Linked DNA regions of Homo sapiens: all the other regions are linked to region 1. Evidence: promoter capture Hi-C in 16 types of primary human blood cells and fetal thymus (Javierre and others, 2016). All regions are on one chromosome and are shown on one strand. The core of a region is centred on a gene start or on the middle of the fragment in contact, and the rest is flanking DNA. Distances in the headings are between cores, read along the strand shown. Region 1 holds the start of HOXD1 (homeobox D1). Region 2 has its middle 31 kb from the start of LINC01117. Region 3 overlaps LINC01117 (long intergenic non-protein coding RNA 1117). Region 4 overlaps LINC01116 (long intergenic non-protein coding RNA 1116). Region 5 overlaps LOC124907910 (a long non-coding RNA gene). Region 6 has its middle 28 kb from the start of MIR1246. Region 7 has its middle 25 kb from the start of NRAL.

Region 1 (3,834 bases), core at 903-3,402:
TTAAAAAATATACATACTGTATATATTTACATTCAAGTTTGAATAATATTTGTCAAGATATAGTTCAGATTCTACTCTTTACCCATTCTGTGGATTTGTTCATCTAGTAACTAAACAGCGATTGTATCATCACTCAGGCACATAGAGAGGTAGAAACCGCTTTTTTAAAGAAAAAAAAACTGGAGTGCAAATGTGAAGATCACTGAAGCAGCTTAGCTACATCAAGGAGACCCTAACTAGCTTTGGTCATCTCAAAAAGCTGAATATATGTAGCCTTGTCCTTTAAATTAAAACCAGAAAAACTTTGGGCAGGTGCTCTTCTGAGCACATCAGAGTGCTGACAGAACTCAGCAACTAATGGTCTGCCACTCTGCAACGCGAATTGCACATGACTAAGTGAGGCAAAGATAGCAGCGGAGCTGGGCTGGCAGCTGGGCACCTTTTCCCTGATAAGACACAAATCATAACCAAACAAGTGGCTTACAAGACAGTCAATTAATATCTGGACATATAGTCTGGAACTCGGAAGCCAACTAAAGTACTTCATTTCCCAAGTGAAATCCCTATTCATTTTTGTTCTCCCACCTCCATCCCAAACTGAGCTCCTAAGTCTAGATAGGGATGGGGGTCGCCTGGGACTTCTGCAGGCCACAGTTTTTCGGCCCCAAGTACCGGCCTCACGAAGGCTCTTGGGACTGAGAAGGGCTGCCGGGGTTCTTGATAAACTTAGTGGGGGTTGTTCCAGAGAGGGGAAGTTGGAGGGGAGCCACAGGAATGGCCGTGGCCAGAAGCCCTTCTCGTTCCCTTTTCTTCTGTTTCATCCTGCGGTTCTGGAACCAGATTTTGACTTGCGTGTCATTCAGGTGCAAGCAGTTGGCTATCTCGATGCGCCGGGCTCGAGTTAAGTACTTATTGAAATGAAACTCTTTTTCCAGTTCTGTCAGTTGCTTGGTGCTGAAATTCGTGCGGATCGCGCTGGAGGGGCTAGCGGCCCCATACTCGGCGAGTTTGCCTGCAACGTAAAGACAGGGCGTCAGCCAGGCCTGAGGCCGGGGACAGAATGTGGGTGAGCAGTGGAGCTAGTTAGAATCAAAGTCCCAGCGCAGCCCTCCTGGGTCCCTAGGAACAGAATTTGTACCAGGAGAAGTTCCACGGAGAGCTCCTTCCTGAAATTTTCTCAATGCCTGGCACATTTTCCGAATCTGTACTCGAGGCAGACTCCATGGAATTCGCCCGGGAACGCGTCTCCTCCACAAAACCCAAACCGCTGTCTGGAAAGGCAGCGACACCACGCTCCCAGCGCATTTCCGCGGGGGAGGCTCCGTCCCCAACCCCAGGTGGCCCCATCCAAGGCCCGCGGACTTACCTTTCTTAGAGGCATTCCTCTTCACTTTCATCCACTCGAACGTGCTGAAGGCGGCAGGGAGGCCGGAGGCGGGAGAGACGGACTTGGGGTAGGTGCCTGGGGCCGGGGATGCGGTCTGGAAAGCACCAGGGTGGCCGTCGGCTGACGCTTTGAGACAAGCCGGAAAAGGGCCGGGTTCGCCGAAGGCCGCGTAATCCACCTGGCCGCTGAGGAGGAAAGAGCCGCCGCCCGAGAAGACGGCCGAGGTGGCGTAGTGGACGTGAGACCCGCCGTCGTCGGCCGCCCGCCCCAGCACGCCCGGGAAGTCGTACGCCGGCCCGGACCCCAGGAAGCCGTAGTCCGCGCCCCCAGCTGCCGCGGCAGGTGCGGCACCAGGTTCGTAGGCCCCCTCCAGGGTGCACTGCGCGTACTGGGGCGCGGCCGGAGGCGGTACGGACGGCCGCGCGGGGGCGGCCGGGGGCGAAGGCGAGGGTCGGGCGGCGGCCAGGGGCAGACAGCTGACGAAGGCGCCGTCGCCGTTGCCCAGAGGGAAGGCGGGCTGCAGAGCCACGGGCCGGGCGTCGGAGCGGCAGAACTTGGGTGCCAAGCTGAGCACGTCGCCGCCGACCCCGCCGCTGCTGCTGCATGACACGTACTCCAGGTAGGAGCTCATGGTTCGGGCCCCACCTTTCTGAGGGCGCAGGCCGGGGCCGGAGTACGGAGCCGGGCAGAGGCTGAGCAGGACTGCCGCCGTCTGCGCCGCTCCGCCAGCCCTCTCTACCCGAGCTGCCCTCTCCAACCCATGGCGAGTGAGCCGGAGGTAAATAGTGGCCTAATATACCGGCGGGGGCGGCCACGTGGCGCTGGCCGGCCAATGGGCGGCCTCTCCGCTCGGCCCGGTCGGCGCGCCGCTCCTCGCGCCTGCCCCGCAGCCAAGTTAGCCAAAGCAGCCCAGGGCCGCCGCCCAGCGCCCCCGAGCCCCGAGGAGAGCCGTCGCGACCGGGGGCTGCCTGGGCAAGGGCGGGGCGAGAGGGCAGAACGCCTGCTCTCGGACAGGTATTGGGCGAGGTGGGGGGAGAAAGGCAGGACTGGACGCTTGGGTGAGGGCCCGTGGATGCAGCGGGGCGAGCCGCTTCTGCTCTGGATCGTGGGGGGGGCTAGTCCCTCGAGGGCGGAGTGTGGGCGTCGCGGCATGGAAAAGGTTAAATGGGAGCGTGACGCGCGGCCGGTGGAGACTGCTCTTCGCCCACCTCCAGGACAGATAAAGTTATTCCTCTTCCCCTCTTCTGAGTCCTCTGCGCTTTCGGTTTGCTTGGCGCTGATGTTATCCCTCTTCTAAACCTAGAGCAGATGTTTGGTTTTTTCCTTTCTTCCCCCTTTCCTAGGACTCATGGAACTACATCTTATGCTGTGAGTGCTGTGTGCCTAGGGCGGGACAAAATTTTCACTTTTTGACTAGGCTTCCTTTTAACGTGACTTTGCAGCTTTCTTCTATCCCTCGCAATTTGTGGCGGCGTGATGAGGGCCAGTGTTGTAGTGCCAGATTTTGATAAAGTTTCTGCCTTGTGGGGTGGTTTAGCAGATTTTCCCCTCCGGCTGGGTTGTTGGAATAAAGAATCCAGAGTGGTGGTGGAACACTCCTTATGCTCCTTTCTGGGAGACTGGCACAGGCACCGGTGCGGCGCTTGCTTTCACTGAGGAGCTTGTCTGGAGGGCGCAAGGGCTTACCGGGGACGGGTGAGATCTCAGAGGTTTAGATGGACTTGTACCTCGAAGCAATTAGAGCTTCTGCTCCATCAGATAAGTGCTGCATCGTCTCTTGTGAGTGAAATCTGAGGGCTCACAATGTTAATGGGCTCACGTCTTTCCCTTGATAATATGGTTTTGTTTACTGAGTGTAGAGAGACGGGAAATAAAAGTGCAATTGCCACAGGAAATGAAGAGTAGAAAGGTTACAAAGACCAGCTTTACATTGACAAACTTTCCAACTTCCTTTAGTATTTCTTTTAATGTTCCCTTTTGAGGGGACTGTAGGAAAATTACAAATTAGATAAATAGAGGTTATTTACACACAGTAGTTATGAAAGAGGGTGGTTTCCTAAAACCCTGTGTGAATAAAGACTCTAAAGAGTCTACTCAGAGCTTATATCAAGTGCCCTTGAAAAGTTAATCTATTACAGCCTCTAAGTTATGGTAACCGAGGTTTTATCATTGTTTTACTGATTGACTTGTCATAAAAGAGCGATTGAGCTGTTGTTGCCTAAATTTCCACTCTGAGGAAGTCTTTAGAATAGGCGCCATCACAGCCCAGGGAGCCAGTTCCTTCCAGGGTTGTGGACTTGTGAATAAACAAAGCCCTACCAAAATGTGGACTACTGATGGACCCGAAGTTGCTGCAGGATGGGGGAGGGATGTCCCCAGGTTGAGGGGAGCCAGTAGAGGGTGGATGCCTAGGAATCAGCACAAAGTTAAAGAGGTCTGTGGTTCCT
Region 2 (3,834 bases), core at 413-2,912, 480 kb before region 1:
CCAGCAGCATCTACCAAAACTACTGAACAAAGTTCCAGCCAGTACTAAGTGACATTCAACCAGAATTCTTTAAAAAGCATCAGCCACAAAGAAAGTTAGCCGGAGCTAGGAACAAAGCTATGCTATGGCCATACAGAGGGAATTTCGTAATGTTGCTCATCCTAGAGAAGTGATTTCCCAAAGGCAGGTCTGTGCAAACATTTTCACAGGTCCAGAGCAAAATGAGGAAATTTTCTTAAGAAAGATTTTATTTTTAGATTATAGTCTTCTCATATTATAGTATAAAAATTTCCCTTCTTGTATGAAACAAAGGAAAAAAGAGACTGGTTGTGTTCACTGTCTTTACAGGAGTGAGGTGGGAGGTAGTTAGCAATTCTGTTAGTCCTCAAACTATTTTTGGAAACTGCCAGGTTATGAAAAGCCAAGGTAAGATAATCAACGGACCACAGAACTTAGCCTCTCAGCCTGCTCTCCTGAAAGTAAATGGGACCTACAACTACAAGTCACAGTGACCTCCTATCACTCTCATGACTGCCTGCAACAAGGTAGTGAAAACATAGAACATGTCCTCCTGATGTCTCCAACTTTCTGGGTGTGATACTGATCACAGGTGAGGTTTTCACAGTCTGTTTCTAATTCATTCCTATGCTGACACAGGCTGCACTTTTAACCAAGTTTTTGCTGCTGAATGCTTCATTGAATTCTCCTTTCCTGGAGAGACTTTAGAATCACTTGATCCCCAGATTCAAACAGCATTCCAAGGCACTGGGGTTAGGGGAAGCAAAACCAAGGGCACGTTTCAAATGACAGGAAAGGCCCCTGCTGACCTCCCTGTACATGGTCCTGTTTGTCATGATGAGACGCTAATTTCAAACCAGGAAGTCTATTTAGTGAAGGAATGGAAACTCCCCACACGACACCAGGACTGTTTAAGATCACACACTCTACTCCGATCACACATTCACAGTGCACTAAAGTGGTTGAAGAAAATCACTCTGATTCTGGGCACTCCAGCTGTCTGAGAGTTCAAAAGCTTAGACCATCATGTGCTTGTTGCTATTATTCATGCTGAGAAAATCTTTTCATCTTTTTTTAAAAGTTGGTCAGAGAAACTGGGTGGTGCTTTTCCTTAAAATAACTTGAACAAAAATTAGAAATGAGATAACATGGTGACAAATGAAAACTCTACATTGTATTCATTCACTGAAAACTTTCCCAGCAATATAGGAAAAACCAGCCAAGCCTGGAAGGCAGCCTCCCTATCTGGGGAAATACTGTGAAGCTGGACAAATGATGAAACTGAGCTTTGAACAAATATACCCCTAATCCAACATAAGACATGGCTGAACAGCAAACTCAATGAGATCTTTGGTTTAGCAGAGAAATTATGTAATGTCAGAGAGCCCCAGACTTGCTTAGCTACATGTCTGAGAATGCTTAAAATGGTCCTTCCACAGCAACTAATACAGATGTACAATTCACTGACCTAGTTTTCCCAAATTGGATCAGTAGCAAATGATGATGATTTATGTCCCAAACCTTCCACCATGAGCAATCCAAAAAACATAGAATTCAAAGGGAAAAAAAATCACATGTTCAAGGGAATACAGAATACCCGGATATTGTAAATTAGGTTCCAGGGCCACTGGCTAGTAGCAGAATATATCTGCAGCATTATAAGCTGCTGCTAATCTATGAATATACAAAGAAAGAACACTGGTCTGGCACCTCAGACATTTATAAGGAACCATTCATTCATTCAAATGAACAAACCTAAGGAGAGAAGAGTCTACCTGTGAAGTTAGACCCTAATGTAGGGCATACACATTGGTATTAATATCAGATGGCATCCTAAAAAGAGGGTTCTTGTCGACTAACCAGCAATGTGTCTTAGGCAATTGATTTTGCTCTCTGGCCCTTACTCAGTTTTGTGATCTGTAAAACAGGGATTAGATTAGAGTATATCTAATGTCCCAAACATCTCTGATACTTTCTAATTCAAGTTGTTGATCAAATACCAAGAGAAGATTGTTAAGGACTAACATGATTTTCAAGATAAATTTAGATCAATCTCCTCAGTGCATACTGAACATCTTCCATCATAGACCACTGCCTTAGCATATGCGGGAAGTGGGCCAAAATGTTCAATTCCAGTCTTTAATTTGAAAGGGTCTGACACTTTGGTTCAGGAGATAGGACACATACATAAAATTGCAATACAGAGTAATCAATGCTAAATTCCAAATGTCCAGCACAGATACAGCACAGAATTCAAAGGAAGAAAAGCTTCTCCAAGGTTTAGGGCAGAAGGAATCATTTTCAAGGAACAGGTGGAGCTTTAGCTTAATTCTCTCTGAAGGTAAAAAGCTAAATTGGATAACTTCTCAGGATCCTTGCAAATCTAAAATTATCCTGTAACAACAATTAATGTTATTAATTGTTATTAATGTTAATGTTATTAGTGTAACATTAATTAATGTTAATAGTTAATATAGGCTCCACCTCTAATAGGTATAGTAATATTACTAGTACCATAAAAATTAGTTCAATTTATATAGGACTTATTTTTCTAGTAAAGGTATTTCATAATTAATTACAAATTACCTTTGAATAATTATACCATACAAGCTAACTACCTATCTTATATGTGACTTAACAACTAATTCAGGTTTAAATAATTGCTTCAAAATAAATTGAAGATGATTGTTGAAAATTATGACTTCCCAACTACAAGGATTTATTTCTTGACCTTCCAGTAGCTATCTCCGAGTACTTCTAGGGTGGAACACAGGTGAATTAAACCAGTTGTTTGGCAGCTATAAAGAATTCCTCTCTTTGCATGCCACTGACCTTTTCATTGGTAAACTGGTGGACAGGGTTAAGAGTAGACTTAACAATTCTGCCATCATCAAGCAGTTTTATCATGTTTGGCAACTTTACTCAAATCTGAAAGAACACAAAAGAAAGCTTCCCCATAGCAAGTGGTAGAAGGTTACCTGTGACATATCCCTCCTTTTAGTGACCCCACCAAAGATTACAGTACCCAGGAGAGAAGAGGACTCTCAGCTGCTACACTCAGGGGGACATTTAAAGTACATCCAATTCTGAATTAGAAACATGGGCAAAGGCCTAATTTCACAAAATTGGGCCATCCTGTGCTTGCAGCTCTGCTAATGCTTGAAAGGGAAAGATTTTTTAAAAATTAAAAAGAAAGCAGAAAATGGGAAAGCACTTATTTAAAATTAATGTCACTTCTCATTTTTAATTATTCTTTCCTGAACTCTGCCTCACCCTTAACCCTTTGCTTGTTGTATACACTTAAACCTGGAGACAAACATAAAATTAGTTTGCATATAGACACTAATTAACATACACTGCTTGACGATAACAAACCCATCTTTTCATCTATTTTTAAATTCTTATTGTGAATCCTTAAAATATATCCCATTTTAAAGCATCACTGATTCAATTTTAAAACATTGCCAGAACTTGCTTTGCTAATCTGCAAACTCGATAATTCTCCCCCAAACCTCAGCACACTCAGCAACAATTTAATAGCAAATATCTCTAGTGGGACTTCATATTACTAAGATTCTATTACTTTTTATATTACCAAAAAAGTGCTAGTACACTCTAAAGTATTATAAATAGTTCAGACCAGGCAATGCTTGTCAAAATATATGAAAGTTTATTTTTTTGCACTCAGAAACTTGGGATTTTTATCTTGTGTATTTATAAGCTATAATGTGCCCCTCCATAATTAGTACAAAATGTAGATTACTAATCAACTTTCTAAAGTTTCTAGACATTTTATTTCGTTAACGTGATTACTAA
Region 3 (3,834 bases), core at 428-2,927, 460 kb before region 1:
GGTTAAAACAGGGCACCCTCCCTCTGCAATCCCCCACTTCCAGACAGAATTATAAAAGGCTACTGTCTGTAAATGAGAAATAGCCCGTAAGACCCACCAGCAGGTTATGCAATATGTGATATAGACCACCAGGGGCTGAACTGAAACCACTAATACTTTTTTTCATAGCATCATTAGCTAGAGTTAAACAAGGTGTCAAAGTGGAAAGATGGGGAGGTTAACCTGGCTCATTATATTTGCATGCCTTCATTTTAATTATTTTTTGTACTAAAATTAAACACTAATATTCAATTTTATTATTTAAATGTGTTACCCACAAACAGTACATTACTTTTTATCTTTTTAAACGATTAATGCATTATTTTGTGATTATTATCTAAACTTGATTTTCAATAAATACTAAAATTCTCTTGACAAAAATGTAATTTAAATTTAAGGCTAAGGAGAGGTTATTAGTAAAAATTTTCCCTGTTGTACTTTATGAGATAAAATTGATTTTCATTTTTTGAAATTTAGATCTTAAATCAAAATCTGCCTCCAACCAAGATGAGTGAGCCCAGGGCTCATGGAGTGAGTTTGCATGCATTCTTGATCTCATGTTGACAGTCATCGGGAAAAAATATGTTCTCTTTATAATAGCTCCTTTACAATTTAGGACATTGCTAGGTTTTTACATGCACTAATATTAGTTGCCCCATGTACCTTAAGTAAAGCCAACCCAATAAATTTAGGATTGTGACTGAGAAATAAATGCCATGTCAGTAAACCTCAACCAGATACCAGAAGAAGGATTATGTGATTGTTTAGTCCAAAAATTAAGTTTCATGTCTTTAATTGGTGTCATATCCTGTCCTAAGTATGTAGTGCTTAAATCAAAGGCAACCACATTAACCTGGAAAGGAAACATAATAACAACTCCTTTCATCCCCTGCCTCAAATGTTTGTATGCTCTACCCTAATTTTTGTTAAAACACTTTCAGGCAAAGACAACAGGAAATAGTAAACATGGCAACACCATGAAAATAGTTTTCGGATGCACTATTTCTCTCCATGTTCAAAGAATCAGTTGTATAGGCTGCAGAAGAAACTGATGCATCATTAAACCTAATGCAGACAAAAACAGCCACACTTCCAGCAAAATGGATAGTTCTGTTCATTTTATAAATCTTGGTTCTAGCCAGACGAAAGCCAGGAATTAACTCGGTCTCTCACATCAATGGCCTGAAACGGTGGTGCATCACGGTAATACATTCAAAGGGAATCAGGAGTATCTAACAACAACTTTAGGAGCAGGAATGCAATTATAACTGACAGCCAGATGTCTGGTCGGGCTGCTACAACTACCCATCAAGACTGCAGATGGTCTTGAGATCTTTGCATCTAAACAGCGAGTCCAAGTGAATGATATACAGATAAACAACAATACCACAAATCATCAACACAAACCAAAAAAGTCGTTGTGACTGATAAAGATTTCAGATGTCAAGAGTTAGCCAGCTCAACTCCTTACTCTCCCCTTTCTCTTCTATCCAAACAAAAAGCTTGTTAGTGGTTGAGGGCCCAGCGGGAAATGTTTGGACACCCAGTGCCAAATGCCAGTCTTTGACTAAAGACTTCAATATACTTTAATGTTTAGATTACAGAGGCAAAAAAAAGGCTCCAGTAGAAATTACTTTACATGTGGAATATTAATAATTTGACTAACTCTATATTACATGTATTGTGCTTCCTCTTTACCTTAGAAGAGTACAGTAAAATTCAAAGAGAAAGAAAACTTAATTACCATTAAAGCAATGATCGGCATAAAGCTTTTTGTTCCTCGAATATGTCTCAAAAAAAATTTGAGGTTATGCTAGTAGATTAGATAGCGTTTCTTAACCTAGCTAAATACACATATTTCTTCATTTTCACAGATTCCGTATTATCTTGAAATACTTTTCTTTTGTATATCAGATTTGACATGAATTTGCGCTTCATAAACTACTACAAATATCAAGCCATTCTAATCCAAATGTGGATAAAGAATTTTGGGGAAAAACTTAGAAAAAAATGTCTTATTTTGTAAAGCAGTTTGAAATTTTAATGAATTTTATGGTATTAAACAGTTGCAAAAATAATGGAATTATATTCAACCTATTTATTCCTTTAGTGAGCATGGGTGGATATTTCAGTACCATCAACCATTTTGCAGTTTTCATAAGGTCTCTTCGAGCAAAAATTATGCCCTTTCAAGCAAACTCTTTTTAATGAAGTTAATCCAAAGGTTCCTAGATTAAATATTTCAAATACATTTCACTTATGTGACATTCTTCTCCAGGGCTCCAGTGTACCCTCCTATTGTTGTCGGTTCCAAACCCATTTTGAGGTCTCTGCTTTTTCCATGAGAACGTCAAAACTGGAGGCCTTTCAAAGTAGCTGCTGTGAACACGGAGGCCCCACAGCCAGCCTGACAGTCCCTCCAGTTGCTCTCAGAGACTTGCTTCACATGGATACACAGAGCAATTCTCCAGACACAGACGCATCTGATGCCCTTTCCCGAAAACAACATTTCCAGAAAATATGCTGACCATGAAGAAACAGCAGGGGTGAGAGAAGTGGCCAAAGCACTTGAAACATCTTAACAAGCACTAATTAAATGTCGTGCTTAAAAAATATGGCTGAAGAAAGCCAAATACAATAACTTCTTACAGATGGTTTTAGGAACTAACAAGACCTATAGGAAATGGCGCATTAAGATTAGTGTCCCCGAAGTCTCTTACAACCATTAGTGACTGGAGGTGCTGTGCACTTTAGAAAGAAATAATCAAAATTTGCCTGATGTGAAGCTGTTTTTTTTTTTTTTCTCATTTCTCTCTGAAGGGAACTGCGCATCTGTCAGTGCATTACACAGTCAATATTGACACGGCCAGCCAATGGAATATAAAAGGAACATTAGCGGCCTTGAAATCTATTTTTTTCTGATGGGGTACAAAGCTATCCTGAAAAACAACTGTGAGTATCAAGAAGGCAGGGACTGTGCTTCATCATATATGTATGACTATGCCAATATAGTGGGCATTTTATAACTGTTCACTTATTTATTGAACAAATATTCCTTTGGTGGTTACGCTCTGCTGGCTATGGACTATGATTTGGAGATAAAGTAGACAGATATGGTATCTACCTTTCAGAGTGGGGAAGCTGTGTAAGGTTATTTGTTGGAGATGGATGAATGGATGGATGGGAAAATGTGTGCTGGGGTAAAAAAGGTGTTTCTCAGCCATAGGTCTGGTGCTCTGGTCTGATATTCCTTTAAGATAAGACCCTTGGTCTGAGCACATTCAAAGAAAGATATAGGTAGGTTCGCCAGGTGCGATGGCTCACGACAAACCCAGTGGCAGTAATTAGTCCCAACATGGGCCTGAAACTAGGTGCTAGTATGGAAGTCTGAGCTTCTAATGAAGGGGCTTTGAAGTGAGGTTTCCCACAATCTTAGAACCTATACGACATTATTGTTAGTATTAGCTTTCTGATAGAATCTGGAAGAAGAGGCTCTGGTAATAAAGGAAAATATAGGCCTAATATTTAAACATTTTTTAACCCAAAGTATTACTAAAAGATTGAAGGGTGTATGTATGTCTGACTCTATTGTTAAGAAGACACCTCTTGTTTCCAGTTGCTTGTATATTACCCCTTGGGAAGATATGACTTAGCAGCCCAAACTGCCTTTCACACTAGCAGGCTTCTTGATCTCTTTACTGTTGTTTGTTTGTCTTAATTCTACTCCCATTTGCCACGTATTCAACTGTTTAATACTAGTATTCTACCCCTTGTCTATACCCATGATGCAAATTG
Region 4 (3,834 bases), core at 387-2,886, 440 kb before region 1:
GAACTCGAATGACTTTTTAAAAATAAGATGTTGAAAATGTGGGTTTCTGGTGGAAAAGGCTGCCATTCACTTAGAGTGGGATCCTTAGGACCAGTTAATATCCACCAGACATGCTTCAATAAACTGGAACAAGCCTGATGTGGAATTACTGACTCCCCATTTTCCTGAATGTAGGTCATTTTGTGTCCTTACAATTTAACGTTTGAAGGGATTTCCTGTCTTTGAAGTGCAACAGTTTGTCACCTGCTTGGCTAGCTGCCTTAACAGTTGGGGCTCCTTTCCTACATTGAAAGACTTAGTGACTCCATGTTCCCGGGCTAGAGTTTCCCAGCTCACTGAATGCATGATACCTGCACCTCTGGGACTCTCCTCTACAAGTTAGTGCCTGCAGATCCCCTGTTCCAAGCTTCATTTCTCTAGGTCAAAGAGCCTAAAAGAAAAGCCCGGGCCGGGCGCGGTGGCTCACGCCTGTAATCCCAGCACTTTGGGAGGCCGAGGCGGGCGGATCACGAGGTCAGGAGATCGAGACCATCCCGGCTAAAACGGTGAAACCCCGTCTCTACTAAAAATACAAAAAATTAGCCGGGCGTAGTGGCGGGCGCCTGTAGTCCCAGCTCCTTGGGAGGCTGAGGCAGGAGAATGGCGTGAACCCGGGAGGCGGAGCTTGCAGTGAGCCGAGATCCCGCCACTGCACTCCAGCCTGGGCGACAGAGCGAGACTCCGTCTCAAAAAAAAAAAAAAAAAAAGAAAAGAAAAGCCCGGAGCCATACACTCACCTGGTTGAAGCCATAAAGAGGTAAGCTTTCATAACGTAGGCTATATATCAAAATTCATAGCTTTTTAGAACCGGAGTAACTAGTGCTCAGGCATTAGAGTCTCAGGCTAGAGCAAAACACAGCAACTGGTGCCAAATGTACGCTAGTGGCTGAAACCCATTTAAGTAATAAACAAACAAATGTCCTTTTAAGAATGTGCTATTATTTTTATTTAAGAATGCATATGACTTTATCGCCCCTTATGATGTGAATCTTACAGTTCAATATTTCAAGTGAAAATCTGCCTGTTCGAAAAGAAAATATTCACAAATGAGCAGTGTATTAGAAGACAACTGAATTGCTTCTAAGAATGGTGGGTATGCTAATTTTTACCAAATGATACAACATGTGCATGCCAAAGCTCTTTGTAAACTATAACACACCTCCAAATGAAAGCAATTTGCATATATTTTAATAAACTTGTCTGCCTTTACCACATCCACCAACTAATCCTTATGCTCCCACTGCAAAGACTCTCCTCTTTTTGGAGAGGAACACCAATTGTTTGAAAGCCTGGACTTTCAAACAATCTTAAGGCATCTTCATAGTATCCGTCCTTAAGAGTGCTTTCATCTTAATATTAGGTAAACATTTAGAAGATTATGAACTTTGGGGACTTTCTTTTCAGAGAACTGAACACGTGTATATAAAATTACAATATCCTGATAAGTGAGGGGAAGAAAATAAAAATAGGTGTCAATACAGTTATGGCTTAAGATCTTGATGAAATTGAGAAGAAAGTAGAAATCAAATGCATCAAAGGAAGAACGGTCAGACTGAATTCTGTTTGTAATTTTTTCAAAATGAACTGAAATGCAGTTTTTCTGACTATATGTTTTCTTTTATGGACATTAATCACTTTGATTCATTTAATTTCTCTGGAAGAAACTGTAGCTTTTGTAACAGAATCTGCTCTATTGGGTTCTGTATGGGCACCTACCGGTTTGCTTTCTAGCCAGTATCATGTGAATTGTCTAGAGAAAATGCCTTTAGCAAACACCTTCAAAAAGCATCCATTCCAAGGGCACACCTCTTGTGTCTCTCACAAAGCAAGTGGTACTATGTCTAGCCAAGGAGGCAGACTCAGATTCATGCATTTATCTCAGGTTTTTTGGTGACCTTCTTCCTAGATCCTGCTCTTGGCAACTGTAAGCCAAGTGTACATAAGTATTAGAATGGATTCTCTAGGTACCAAGTGAAAATTCTATCTCTAGTCACATGCTCCTGCACCTTTCATGTGGGAAAAATGTTCCAGTCTTTCCTTGATTACATCACAGATGATACGAGAACAGGACATGGGACAGGGAACTGCTAAACAGCTGGATATCTCTGGAAACTCAGAGCACTTAAAAACACTTTGAAGCCATGCAGCTGCTCTTTTTTTTTTTTTAAATTGTCTTCAGTGAAACTCCAAAACCCCAATAATATCTACCTTAAAAGCATCAGGAGTATTTTAATTGGGCAATAACCATCCATATTTTCCTTCTGATAAATTAAAATGAATTAAGAATGAAATTTTATGATGATTATAAAGTATATTACTGACCCAAGGGACAAGAACAATTATGAAAAATATGTCCTACATATTTGGCATGAATATGAATTTAGACTTTAAACCATTCATCTTAAATGCTCAAGCATCTTATTAAAGCTTATAAAATAATATTCACATAATAACAGAGTAACTTATAATCATGATTGATATTATATCATCAATATTGCAGCAGGCTTTGTGCCAAATACTGAAATTGACTTGGTCTTTGCCTGTTGGACTTAGAATAAAAATAAATACATTATTAAAAAGATGAAACATGGTAAAAGATTTTGTGCATTTGAGATTTTTTTTTCTTTCTCCAATTAAAATTATTCACCATGAGAACGAAAGGTGATTTTTGAAAAACCTGGAAAACCTAGTGAGTTGGAATTGTACTACTAAATGTTGGAAGATCTGATCAAAATTTAACTTTAATAGCCAGCAGCTGTTTGAGGACAAGTTCACCTTACATGAATGTGGGTGGTCATTTGAGGGTAACCCACCAAGCTTAGCCTAGCGGTGGCCAGGCCCTAAAATAGGAGTCATCTTGGAGAGCAAGAGCATTTCTGTATTTGAGTTAATGCTACCCACCAGCAATCAAGATCAATTAACTCTTGTAGTAAACTTTTTAAATGAATTGGAGATGACTACAGAAATTGCCAAAGACAATGTGGGCAAAAATGGATGGGCTAAGTGAAGGGGCTGCCTGTATCAGCATTTACTTAGGCCCAGCCCCACAAAGCCCTAGCAGTTGCCATTCAGACACCTGTATGTTAACATTAAGACCTTTAGAGCATATGTTTAACTGTGAGTATTTTCTTCCACATAGGTATTGGCACTTTTTAGCATGACCTACCTTTGTGTGTCATGCTAAAAAGCATATATGACTAATAGAACACACACATTTAACTTATTATGGGCCTGGGTTTCCCGGGTTTCAGCTTCAGTGTATGTCCCCTGGCAGGTTTCTTAACTGGTCTGAGCCTAAGTTTCCTCATTTATAAAACAAAGGCAGTAAGTGGTGCCTTTTTGCAATATTAAAATTAGTATTAAATGGCATAACGTTCACAAAATATCTGGAACAGTTTGCCATCAGTAAATATCTGCTACTGCAGTTGCAAGGGAAAAACAAGATTGAATCTTTGTTCTCAGTTTCTCATTATATAAAATTTTAGAGATTATTTAAAGAAAAGAGAGAGAGCATCTAAATGAACAGTTTCAATAGCATCTTGTTTATATTCAGAAATACAGCCCTGAACTCAAACTTGAAACTTCAGTGTTAGCCAACCTTCCCTCCTCCCATCACCACCTGAAGGAAAATATCTTTGTGTAGCACAAAAGAACTTAATTCTAATTCTTTTTTTTTCCTTTTAAAACAGGGTCTCACTCTGCCATCACCCAGGCTGGAGTGTGGTGGCACCATCATGGCTCACTGCAGCCTTGAACTCCTGAGCTCAAGTCATCCTCCCACCTCAGCCTTCCGAG
Region 5 (3,834 bases), core at 875-3,374, 400 kb before region 1:
ACAGAAGGGGCAGAATTTGGTTGTGAGTAGGGTTGAGGACAGAGATAGGTTTGGAAGAGGAGGCAGGCATCAGATCCTGTAGATACTGGAACACTGCTGAGCAATTTTATGTAGAGGCAATGATGGGATTTAATTCATATTTTAGAATGATTATCCTGGCAGTTTTTAAAGTTGATTAATAGTGTTGTCCAAACTTTAGTAAATAGTTTGGTAATTTGCATATGCCAATCATGGTGTTTTGTCCTAACCATGTACCTATTCTGTACTTTGAATTCCTTAATAATGTTCTCTAAATAGACTGCCTCTTTCCCTAACATTATTTTAAAATAAACTTTATATAATGAACATCATAGGGAATTCAGTGTCATTTGCCTTAAAAATGAAAACTATAGTGTGCACCTGTAATCCCAGCTACTCAGGAGGCTGAGGTGGGAGGATCTCTTGAGACCAGGAGGTTTGTGGCTGCAGTGAGCTGTGATTGCACCACTGCACTCCAGACCAGGTGACAGAGTGAGAGAGCCTATCTCAAAAAAAAAAAAAAAAAAAAAAGAGTACAACATTTGACATAGGGAGGTGGCATTTATAAACCCATTTCTTGTGAGTTAGTTTACTGTGGATCAGGCTTCTCAGAAATTGGTCAGCTTCGGGATTACTTTTGATAGGAAAGCACTACTGCCTAGAAAACAGGCCTCTGGCATCAGCCTTTCAAAGCCACACATTCAGTAAGCATCAAGTTTGACTGTGTTGTTTTTTCCGCATTTGGAAAACATTCTATGCAAGTTTCATTCACATTATGCTCTTCAAGAATCTTCAACCAGGAACACATTTGGGTTTTTAAGTCTATACAGTAATTGTTGTCTTGGATGATAGCTTGTTTTGTAACCCTCTGGTAGCCAAATGAGTGTGACAGTGATGGAATTAAAATCATAACTACATTGTGCTCAAATTGTTTGTTTGAGTGACTTAATGACAGGATTCCCTTCAGCAAATGCAAAATATGAAAATATTTCAATTTTACAAGGCAAGGGAAAAATACATTTTCCTGAATGGTTCTGGAAAGGCCACCTCTATTTTCACAAGTGTGGCTGTAAAATAAACAAGCTTCATCTTTAATTTACCTTTGCTACCGCACCAAGATGCCTAGGTGTTAAGAAAAGACTGTACAGTGATGCATTTGCCAGACAAAAAGCTTTCCCTGTTATTAATGACTGGTGGCGCCCCAGTGTAATCAAAGGGCACAGCTGCAGTGATATACGGCAGTGACAAGCCTTGGGATCTTTCCTCCTCAATGCTACGAGCCTAACAGCTAGCAGTAGAGAACTCCCAGCGCTGTATATCTACAAGATAAATAGCACAAGATATGAATATACGTATGGCTTACAGTCCTGAAAAGTATTGTTATATCCTCCCACACACAATCATTCTAAATATGACGCAAGTGCATTTTTCACCATTTCAGTACAATCCTTGTTGTTTGTAAATGGCAATAGTTTTCTCGTAGAGATTTAAAACCCTCCAACTGTTCCAGTTACTGACGTCTGATTTGAAAACTGGTGCCTATGCTGCCGACAGTACAGCAGGTTTCCAGAGATTCATAACCCTTTTTACAGTGACAGGCAGCATCAAAAGAAGGAATCACCACAAGAATATACTAGAAATCATTTTTATTTTTGCTCCTCGATGATGCCAAGATGATCTAAAGGGAAAACTGCGAGTCACTCATGATATGAATTTGACATGAAGGAATCCATAAGAAAAATTCACTGATGTTTTTATTTCCAGCTATTAAGCCATTTTTTCTCTCTCCTGCTTTGAATTTCTGACCAGTAAGTGCCATATTTTGCTTTGTTACGGGTTCAAGAAATGCATTTAATTGGGAGTTATGACCAAGGTTAAATAATCAGCATGAAATGAGGTTAGCTTTCTTCACTTACTCAGGCGTGAATTCTTCTAGAAACATTTTATAATTACTGATTAGGTTTCCATTAAAAATAAAATGAACAAAACCACAGAATGGTCTTTTCCTGGATCAATAGCAAAGACACGTCCATGCACACACAGAGGAAGTCAGCGCAGCTCCATGACCTTTTCATGAACTTTCCGGGAGACGGAAAGATCATTCAAAGGGCAGAGGTCAGCATTCATGCTGGTCACAAACAAAAATCAGATTTTGCTTTGCAATGAAGGCTTTTACCTATGAGTGCAAATTCAATACTATTATTGCATATTTTCCTCCATTATCAATGACAGAATAAACTGCTTTTGTATTTGCGGCACGTGTTAACATTTACTAACTCATATTACTTTGCTATCTTTATCAAGCATCACAAAATGAAAGATGAGATTTAAAAACTGGAAAACTTCAGTCAAGATGGGAATCCTCAGCTCATCCAAAGGACTTTGCCATGCAAAAGATGCCCCTCTCTGGGTCATTGCTCCCCTCACCGACCCCAACATGCATAGCACAGAGGGAAGGAGGATGCCAGAAAGACAAGATAATAGTGAATTAAGGATGGAGCTTTGCTACAAATAAATTACACAGGTCTTGAGTGGGGAACGTGAGTGCTGCTCCTCTGTGGACGCAGGTTCACCTCACACAGAAACAGTGCAGCTCTCTAGTTTTGCCCCAGAGGATGTTGAGGACTGAAGAGACAAAGGTAGGAATAACTGGGAATCTGAAGCATTTTTAAAAAGACCCTCATTTCCAACAGTGCTGACTCAAATCAGCATCATTGTGAAACCTGAAAACTCAACATGGTTTCTGGGTGGAAGGTGTCCACATAGAGGTGCCAATTGGCAACTCCTAATGTCAGTGTTCTTAGACAAAGGGGAAGCCAGATAGACTGAAGCCATGTGTTTGTTAGAATCAGTTAGGAAGTCAAAAGGCACCTTTAGGAGCTTTAAGAAATCAGGCGAGTATCAAAATATAGAGATCCTACTCTTCTGGAAATCCAATATCCTAACTTGATTAAGAAGAAAAAGCATTTTCAAAGATCTGGATGCAACCACTACAAGTCACAGATGGCTCTGTAGCACTCTTCAGACAATGCAAAGCTTAGAGAGTTCTGAAGCCTTTTATAGAAATAAATTCACATTTGACATATAGTGAAATTTGGGCCCTAATTCTTTTGTGTTCAAATGGGTGTCCTAAAGACACACATTATTCCTGCCTTTTCATGTTCTATTTTCCTGGATACAGCATTTGATTTTCTTAATCACTTGACGTATGACATAGGTGAATTGAAAAATAGCCCAAGGCTATTCGTAACAGTAATAGCTTCATCCAACTTTAATTCTTAATACTGTGTGCTAAATCGGAAGTTAGCTTTTATTAAAACAAGTTTATCTACGTGGGCATAGGGGACATAGGGTAGTGCTGAGAGGCTGGATGCCTACTGAGCCTGTAGAACTTGAAAATTTTAGAAAGAGACTTGGGAGGGCATTCCTTTACCCTCTTTTGTTTTTTAGAAAAGGAAACCAAGCCTTGGTGAGTGAGTGTGTGTGTGTGTGTGTGTGTGTGTGTGTGTAGTACTGATCAATTAGAGGGTAGGCCTTATCCAATCATAGTGGATTGTGGGTCTTGGAGAGGGAATCCAGGAAGTCTTCTGCAGGTATCAGTTCAATCCTTTGGCTACTGAATTGTGGAATGTGGAGGACATCCTGGAAAACAAACAGTTAGTAAACAGTCAGGTAATAGATAACATAAAGTTTCCTCCTAGTCCTGGGAGAAAGATGGTGTGTTCATTGAAAGCTCATCTGCCTGAGTTAGGATGCTGACTCCACCACTTACAAGACGAATGACTTTGGACAAGTTATTTAACTTCTCTAGGCCTT
Region 6 (3,834 bases), core at 750-3,249, 380 kb before region 1:
TCATTATTATCAGCACGATCTAATTTAGGAGAGCAACATGCTTACTTCTTGCATTTTCAACATTTTTAAAGTAAAGCAAAAGATCCTCCTCCCTTGTCATGAATAGCATCTCTGAAAATAGTCCACCAAACCTCCAGAGTCCAGTGCAAACAAAACTCGGCTCCATGGCATCCCCCTGTTTCGTATTCACATGATGCAAAACACATGGGCCAAATTTATGTCACCGCAATTTGCCTGGCAGCGAGCATTTAAATCACCAAGGTTTGCAGCTCCACGTTTTAGGATGTTGTTTGCAATCCTGTAGCCAAGAGCTCTGAAGGAACAAGCTCACATGAAGGGTCGTTAGCCAGCCGGATGTGATGGGGCTGTTTTAGCAGAGAACTAATTAGTATGCTGCAAGGTATCTGCATATCTCTCAAATAGACATTGTTTGTGTCTTTCCTCAGTGACAGGGGGAGATTGTTCAGTAGAACACCTTACCTTTTAATATGCGGGGTTTGTTAGAAGAACAGCTCAATTCATATTTCCCCTGGTTTGATGGTAAGTGAACAGCAGTGGCAATATTAATCTGTAGTAACCTGTCAGTGAACTCTACAGCTAATATGATGTAGTTATGATTTTACCATCAATCAGGACTGAACAGGCTCTGGGCAATCCTTACAGCACAGCCTCAAAAAATCTAATTGTGCAAAAGCTTCATTGGTTTCCAACATTTCTTTTTATCTGTCACAGGCTTTAGGCCTAATACACAACCTTTTATTATTGGCCTTATTGCATTAGCTTGTCGGACAAAGAAGAAAAGGCTAAAGCAGAGAGTTCCCCTGCATTCCATCATTTGTTTGCATGCAGGATTTTATTTGACAGTCCTGTATTGTTTTAGATGTAGATAAAAATTATTCAGACATATGGCATCATATGAACTTTTGAACTGCCAATTGCCAATGTGTCCTAAAGGACTGGAGGCATTTACAAATTCTGCTCTACCTACAAAGACAGAAATGCTATATGGACGAGCCAATAAGGTCTCCTGGGGGAACTGTATTTTAGAATCAACATAATCTTGCATGTTCTCCTTGACCAGTTTTTATGCAGGGGAGGAGTAAAATTGAGAGATGGAACATTAGCAACTGAGATGATTTTTAGCCAAAATGAAGGTTGAATATTTGAGAAATTAAAATGGAAAAACAGTTCACTTTCTCTGAGAACCCGCATGCACAGCATGAAGTAGTATGGAGCCACATGGTGTCCCTTCGTCCCTTCATGTGCAGAATATTTTTCTGGGTGTCTGAGATGCAGTGAGATTCAGTTCCAATGAGAACATGTGCATAAAACACAAATCCACATCAAAGTAGCTCCAGCCTTGAGACTACTGGGTTGGAAGGAACTGTAAGACTTAAAACATATAAAAGCATTTAGGAAGATGAACTATTAACTTTATCTATTTAGGCATTTTAATCTTTTGCATCTTAAATGCAATTGGGCTTTTGGAACTGGGAAATTGCTAATCAGCATGTTGGGTAAATGTTTCTATTTTAAAATGTGCACATTTAGAAATAACAGCTGGCCATAAAGTACATATTTATGTTTGTGATTTAATGTATCACAAACTTTATACTTTATTTCATTCAGCTTCACAAAGAGACCACGCTATTTTTTTTGCAAGCATTATATAACTTTTGCAGCAGCTTTATGACTCAAGAAACACATACAGCAATAAATCAGATATGTATACAATGCCTAGTTTTTCAAATTTGAAATGTCTATTAATGAAAAAATGTAAGGATTATATCCATCTCTTACACTGTCCTAACTCATTTAAAGATTCGACTGAAAATTCCTGTCCATTAATCAGGAAAAATCTGCACAGAATTATACCGATTGTCATTTGAAACACTGCACCCTTGCTTCAAAGGAAACATATTGTGACTAAGGGCACAACAACAGCACAACTGAGTGTTAACCCTTCACAAACCAGCGTGCACATTGTCTACAACCTCATAAAAATAGCTACACAAAATAAGGAAATAGCTATGGCATCCTGCGGTAAGTGTGCAGGAACACGCCTTGGGACTACTGAGGTGGCTGCTGGAGGAGAAAGATGAAAACAGGATGTTAAATGGTTGCAGCAGTGGTGGCAGCTTTGAGAGTTCTCTGGCCCCATCTTCATCGTTAGATGAGCTTTTTCTTAAAAAGGTGGTCTCTAGAGGGTTCTTTTCAAATATTTAAATCTAAATGATCTTAAGGAAGACCACCTGAAAACATCCCAGCTTTGTCAGACCTCTTATAAATTTATAGCTTCTAAGGTAAGCCTTCCTGACAATGTGGCCAGCACGCCACTCACTAGTGAAGGCCTTTGTCAGTGCAGGAAAATGTTTGCATTTGTCAGAGTAAGTTTAGTTCCAAGGTATCATAGCTAAAAAGAGCATTGGATTCTCTTGTGCTGTCCTTGGCAAGAAAAACATGACAGAGAATGTCCATATGAGCAGTTTCAAAATTTAAAAACTAGAAAAGACTGTGAAACTAAATAACTATTGAAAAATGGGAAATTTAGGGTGGGGCATGGTGGCTGATGCCTGTAATCCCAGCACTTTGGGAAGCCAAGGCAGGCGTATAGCCTGAGGCCAGGAGATCGAGACCAGCCTGGGCAACATGGTGAAACACTGTCTATACTAAAATACAAAAAATTAGTCGGGTGTGGCGGCATGTGCCTGTAGTCCCAGCTACTCAGGAGGCTGAGGCAGGAGAATTGCTTGAACTCAGGAGGTGGAGGTTGCAGTGAGCCAAGATCGCACCAATGCACTCCAGCTTGGGCAACAGAGCAAGACTCTGTCTCAAAAAAAAAAAAACAAGGGGGGGCGGGAGGGATTTATACAGTCTAACGCAGCTATTGCTTAAAATACATATAAATATATCTACAAAATTATTAAAATTAAAAAATGCCTACAGACACATGGATAATATACATGTCATTTTCAAGTCAAATGATAACAACAGTGAAAGTTCTCTCCAGAAATAAAAAATGCTAAGCAACTGAAAAAATGTTATTTCTTCAACATTCTCCTTGGACAAAAGGAGAATGGGATAAAAGGTAACTGAATTCATCTTATGAATGTCTTTAAAACTGTAAGTTGAGAAAATATGTCTTTCAAAAGAGTTGACAGAAAACAAGGGCAAAAGGTTCATAGAAGAAAATGTAAAGTGAAGACATGGGGGCAGAATGGTGAAATGTTTTTATAAAGGACTACCTAATCATAGTGACAAAGGTAGATTCAGAATTATTGGGGAAGAAAGGAGAAAAGCTTAGAAAGCCAACACATTAATTAGTAAGTTTGAAACATAGATAATAAATATTATTAAATAAATTGTTTATATGTTCAAACATCTATCTATATATGTATATACTGTATGTAATATATTTTACCATTTTATGCTAACAAAGAATTTTTCTAGCAAAATATTACCAGCGTATCTTAGGTACATATAATTTTAGTGGATTTCATCCCCCTTGAGAATATGTTCTAGATCCCAGAGAATTTAATACAGTTTCATCTAATTTATGTTTTTAAAAATATACTCATGTTTGGAAGGTATAAAGAACAATAATTACTCCAGCAATATTGCTGAACTGAGAATAGAAAGAAATGAAAACTAATATAAAAGTCATAATGGCAAAATGTGTTGAAGTTCAGCAGCCAAGAGGGAAACACAATTGTAAGCTCAGTTGGTCAGGTCACAATGAAACTGATAAAAAAATACAAAGATTAATTACAAAATTATTGGGAAACGTCAAGTAATGTATGAATCATTGACATAGGATCAGTCAGATTCCTCTGG
Region 7 (3,834 bases), core at 795-3,294, 340 kb before region 1:
TACTCAAGGAACAACCAACAAAACCTATGTGAACATGCTTTGAAAAACATTAAGCTTGGCCGGGCATGGTGGCTCACGCCTGTAATCCCAACACTTTGGGAGGCCGAGGCGGGTGGATCATCTGAGGTCAGGAGTTTGACACCAGCCTGGCCAACATGGTGAAACCCATCTCTACTAAAAGTACAAAATTAGCCAGCTGTGGTGGTGCAATGCATGTAATCTCAGCTGCTTGGGAGGCTGAAACAGGAGAATCGCTTGAACCCGGGAGGTGGAGGTTGCAGTGCGCCAAGATTGCGCCATTGCACTCCAGCCTGGGCAACAAGAGCTAAACTCCATCTCAAAACAAAACAAAACAAGAAAAGAAAAGAAAAACATTAAGCTTGACATAGATGAAATCATTTATCCTAGCCTATAACAGAAAATACAGATCACGGAGAGCTAAGACTAAACCAGGTGACTTTGGTTTGCCTGTACCCATTTTCTTTCTTATAAATTCATGCCCTTCTCTTCCCGCATTTTTAGAACATTCTTAGTAATTTCTCCACATAAGCAACCCTGATTTTTTTTTCAGCTTTGAAATTGTCTGCAGGGGCTTCTTTAAGCTGCACTTGCTTTGTCCTCTACAAAACCACATTCTGTTAAAAGAACCATCAAGCACGGACCATGGCTAGGGTCAGAGAGAGCTAGAAGTCCTCTCTAGCTCTACCCATCTGCTCCTTCCCCTACTCTCTTTTTTTCCTGATCCCTTCTGCTTCCTCTGGACAGGAAACACATAGCCTCAGCCATATGATGCCTCTCCATCCTACAGGAAGCTGGAGCACCAAGCTGAGATCACAAGTGCTGGGGCCTTCATCGCAGGCACCTAATTGTTTAAGTAGCTTTTGATCACTTTGCAAAAATATCCCTCTCTCCTTCTTTGTAGCTGCATTGAATGAACATATCCCCTTATGTTTTAAAGAGTCCTTTCTTTGCAGGAAATGAAGGGGAGAGGAATATTAGTTATCTGTATTGCTAGGTGTATTGTGAAACTCTGGATGGCATAATACTTGGCAAACAGGACTGCAAGTCTCTGAAGTTAATCAAGTTGTTGAGGTTTTCAGGATCCAATTATTGGCAGAATTTCCCCACACTCCTAATGCCAATTTAGATGTCTACATGTCTAGGGAACAGTAAATATAAAACATGAAACTGCAGCGTTAAGAAAGAATTGTGGCTGCAGTCCTGTCTAACCAGCGTGCTCCCTATTCTCAAAACTTCCCTTTGACTAGATGGGGAACAATAAATATATATGCCCTCCTCAGTCCTGGAAAGAGCCACCTTGCTGTTTTCCAAAAGGAGATCATGACCTATAACAGAAAATATAGGTCATGTAGAGGTAAGACTACACAAGGTTATTTGGGTTTGCTTGTACCCATTTTTTTCTTATAAATTCATGCTCCTTTCTTCCAACATTTTTAGAACATTCTTAGTGGTTTCTCCACATAAGCAATCCTTACTTACACTTGCATGCCATATCATTGATAACAACCAAATTTATAGTCTGTAGATCAGAGACACAGGCTGATTAGGAACAGATTCATTTGGATTTCGATCTGCACTTTGCATGATGGAAAAGCTAAAGCCTATTGCAGCACTCTGTTTAGATATAACTCTGATTCCATGAACTGTCTCTAGTTGTTACAATGAGGCCTATAAAAGGGCAATCCTAAATAAGCCTGAAAATAATGTCTTGGCACAAGGTGCAGTATCAGATTTTACCAGCGATACCTATAAAGTTCTTTACCAGAATATATAAAGGTAGTGTGCTAGCCAAGACTCCTTTTCATTTCACTAAAAGAATAATGGCCAAGTTAGGATGTTAAGACTTATCATCAAATGTTTTCTGTTGCTTCCCCCAAGGAAAAGTAACAGTGTGATTATCTCATCTTGCTAGAATTACTCTGTTGTGTGAATAGGGGAAGAAAGTTTGGGAAGGGGGAAATTAAAGCAGGAAAAATAATGGAAGGCTATGAACCCTAATACTAATTAAATTATGCCATTAGAAAATGTAATTCTTCCTAAAATCCAGACTATGTAATGTTGGTAGGTGAACAAAACTCCCTGGATGCCATGGAATGAGGAGGAAATGGCTAAAGCCCACAAGACCCAAAGAAAAGGGTCTGTGGAATCTGAAGGCACTGGTGTTTTTCCTGTCATCCTTATGAGTCTAAATTGTGGAGGATATGAACAAACAAAAAGCCCAATGAGACTATTTATGAGGAGAAGCAATAAAATCCACCAGATAATGTATGACAGAGAAGGGGAAATGAACTTTCCCAAGTAGAGTATAATGTGCTCTTCATGGGTGCAATGCACAAGATTAACGATGCCACCCTCAGACTCCTCAGTGGCATTTCAGGACCTTACAATGCAGCTTCCTTTCATTTCATTGGGATATAAATAATTGATAACTTGAAGGGACCTGAGAAACCCACTGCAACTGAACACAGATATTTTTTATGACATCAATTACAGGGCTAGTGATTTGATGAGAAAAGGAAAATATCTCAAACTACACTTTAATGATCTCTACCAAGAACCCCTAGTGTTCCAAATGAAATGTGGGTCTCTGGGCCTGGAGTTCTTTTTCTCTCTCTCTCCATTTTTCCTCCTCAGAGGGAATATAAGTTATAGCTGAATAGAAGAGATGGTTAATTATTTTCATGTCTGTACTTTGCAGTAGTGGGTTTTAGGCCTCCACATTCTAATACAGAAGGAAAGGCTTGAGAGAGTTGAGGCTCTGGGAGTTGCGGGGGCGGAGTTCTCTTGTGTGTGCCACATCAGGGCCGCCTGTTACATGACAGAGGTGTTGTGGAGTTAGGCCTGGCAACTAGAGCCATGATCATAGTTGAGCTTGTCATTTATGGCATTACAACACCAGGACATGTTAAAATGATATGGGAAGCAGTACCATTAAGGCTGTTGAAAGGAAGTCAGAGTTCAAGTATTTGTGCATGAGGCACTTTATGTGGTGACGACTTCTGAATTTATAGTTGTCAGGGCAGGAGTAGATGTTGATTTGGTCTGAGAACAGGTCTGTTCACGCTTGTTTCTGGTTGATCGTGAAGTCCAGTTCATTTTACTTTTTTCATAGCAAAATTCCTGCAAGGCTGCTACTGCTTTATGGAAAAGGTTCAGAACCATACCTGGAAGGTTATCCAAAGACTCCAAAGAGGTAAGGCAGTGAGAGCTGTGCTAAATCCTCATTGTGCATTGGTCCTAAGGGACATGTGCTATGAGGTCATATTGGGATCAGGGCAGAGAGGGCATGGGTATGTGATAGAATGAAGGAGGTGGGAGGTAAAGGAGATATTTCAACCCAATTCCAAGAACAATAAAATCTTATTAGTCTATGACCCATTACATACATTTGAATCCACCACAAGTCAAAAAAGATGCCTTGAAATATCATTACAGGGTACAGGAAGTCTCTCTGAATTAGCTTTAATAGGGGTTTGGGTGTGTTTCTCCACTGCCAATATCGTCATTATTGGATTGCATTTCTTTCTTTATAGAGGCCTAAACAACCAAGGGGGGAACTTGATCTGTTGGTTTAGAACTCCAGAGATCTGCCAGACTGCTTACTCTTGTGTTGAAAAAGATACTGGCTAGTTGTTAGGCCATAATATTGAAGTCCTCATACTTTAAAGCAATGTAATTCTAAGCTTCCATGTCTTGTAAATAGCTGTTGACTGACTTGTCTCATAAGTAGGATGGAAAGGAACAGATAGTGGTTCAATGAAAAGAATTCATTTTTTCCTTCCAGTTTTTTTAGGCAAATACATCCTTGTTCTC

Evidence for each region. Contacts are between HindIII fragments. The CHiCAGO score rates a contact against its expected background, and 5 or more counts as called.
Region 2: a fragment that was not itself captured here is called in contact with the fragment with the promoter of HOXD1 in region 1 in 1 of 17 cell types (fetal thymus); the score reaches 5.7 in fetal thymus.
Region 3: a contact is called between a fragment that was not itself captured here and the fragment with the promoter of HOXD1 in region 1, in 4 of 17 cell types (fetal thymus, total B cells, endothelial precursors and 1 more). The highest score is 7.8, in fetal thymus.
Region 4: a fragment that was not itself captured here is called in contact with the fragment with the promoter of HOXD1 in region 1 in 5 of 17 cell types (fetal thymus, megakaryocytes, naive B cells and 2 more); the score reaches 9.3 in fetal thymus.
Region 5: a fragment that was not itself captured here is called in contact with the fragment with the promoter of HOXD1 in region 1 in 1 of 17 cell types (fetal thymus); the score reaches 5.9 in fetal thymus.
Region 6: a fragment that was not itself captured here is called in contact with the fragment with the promoter of HOXD1 in region 1 in 3 of 17 cell types (fetal thymus, endothelial precursors and naive B cells); the score reaches 7.2 in fetal thymus.
Region 7: a contact is called between a fragment that was not itself captured here and the fragment with the promoter of HOXD1 in region 1, in 1 of 17 cell types (endothelial precursors). The highest score is 5.2, in endothelial precursors.

The regions. Positions count from the first base shown.
Region 1 is chr2:176,186,986-176,190,819 of GRCh38, reverse strand. It overlaps HOXD1 (homeobox D1), which reads right to left and starts at 2,152. Exons shown (of 2, transcript NM_024501.3): 1 at 1,367-2,152; 2 at 1-1,012. The coding sequence starts at 2,018. The coding sequence ends at 678. HAGLR (HOXD antisense growth-associated long non-coding RNA) reads left to right here and starts at 1,862. Exons shown (of 3, transcript NR_033979.2): 1 at 1,862-2,006. MIR7704 (microRNA 7704) reads right to left here and starts at 1,977; the gene lies at 1,919-1,977. The HindIII fragment of the contact is 11,390 bases long and covers 1-3,834 here.
Region 2 is chr2:176,666,652-176,670,485 of GRCh38, reverse strand. No RefSeq gene overlaps it. Among named protein-coding and RNA genes, the nearest start is that of LINC01117, 31 kb to the right of the region's middle. The HindIII fragment of the contact is 1,253 bases long and covers 1,036-2,288 here.
Region 3 is chr2:176,646,598-176,650,431 of GRCh38, reverse strand. All of the region lies in intron 2 of LINC01117 (long intergenic non-protein coding RNA 1117), which reads right to left. Among named protein-coding and RNA genes, the nearest start is that of LINC01117, 11 kb to the right of the region's middle. The HindIII fragment of the contact is 267 bases long and covers 1,544-1,810 here.
Region 4 is chr2:176,630,327-176,634,160 of GRCh38, reverse strand. It overlaps LINC01116 (long intergenic non-protein coding RNA 1116), which reads left to right. Exons shown (of 5, transcript NR_188023.1): 2 at 1,036-1,128; 3 at 3,729-3,834. Among named protein-coding and RNA genes, the nearest start is that of LINC01116, 5.4 kb to the left of the region's middle. The HindIII fragment of the contact is 1,665 bases long and covers 804-2,468 here.
Region 5 is chr2:176,587,745-176,591,578 of GRCh38, reverse strand. It overlaps LOC124907910 (a long non-coding RNA gene), which reads right to left. Exons shown (of 2, transcript XR_007087314.1): 2 at 1,648-3,660. Among named protein-coding and RNA genes, the nearest start is that of MIR1246, 11 kb to the left of the region's middle. RefSeq lists an enhancer at 1,619-2,818. The HindIII fragment of the contact is 1,865 bases long and covers 1,192-3,056 here.
Region 6 is chr2:176,571,544-176,575,377 of GRCh38, reverse strand. No RefSeq gene overlaps it. Among named protein-coding and RNA genes, the nearest start is that of MIR1246, 28 kb to the left of the region's middle. The HindIII fragment of the contact is 2,605 bases long and covers 697-3,301 here.
Region 7 is chr2:176,530,970-176,534,803 of GRCh38, reverse strand. No RefSeq gene overlaps it. Among named protein-coding and RNA genes, the nearest start is that of NRAL, 25 kb to the right of the region's middle. The HindIII fragment of the contact is 3,325 bases long and covers 382-3,706 here.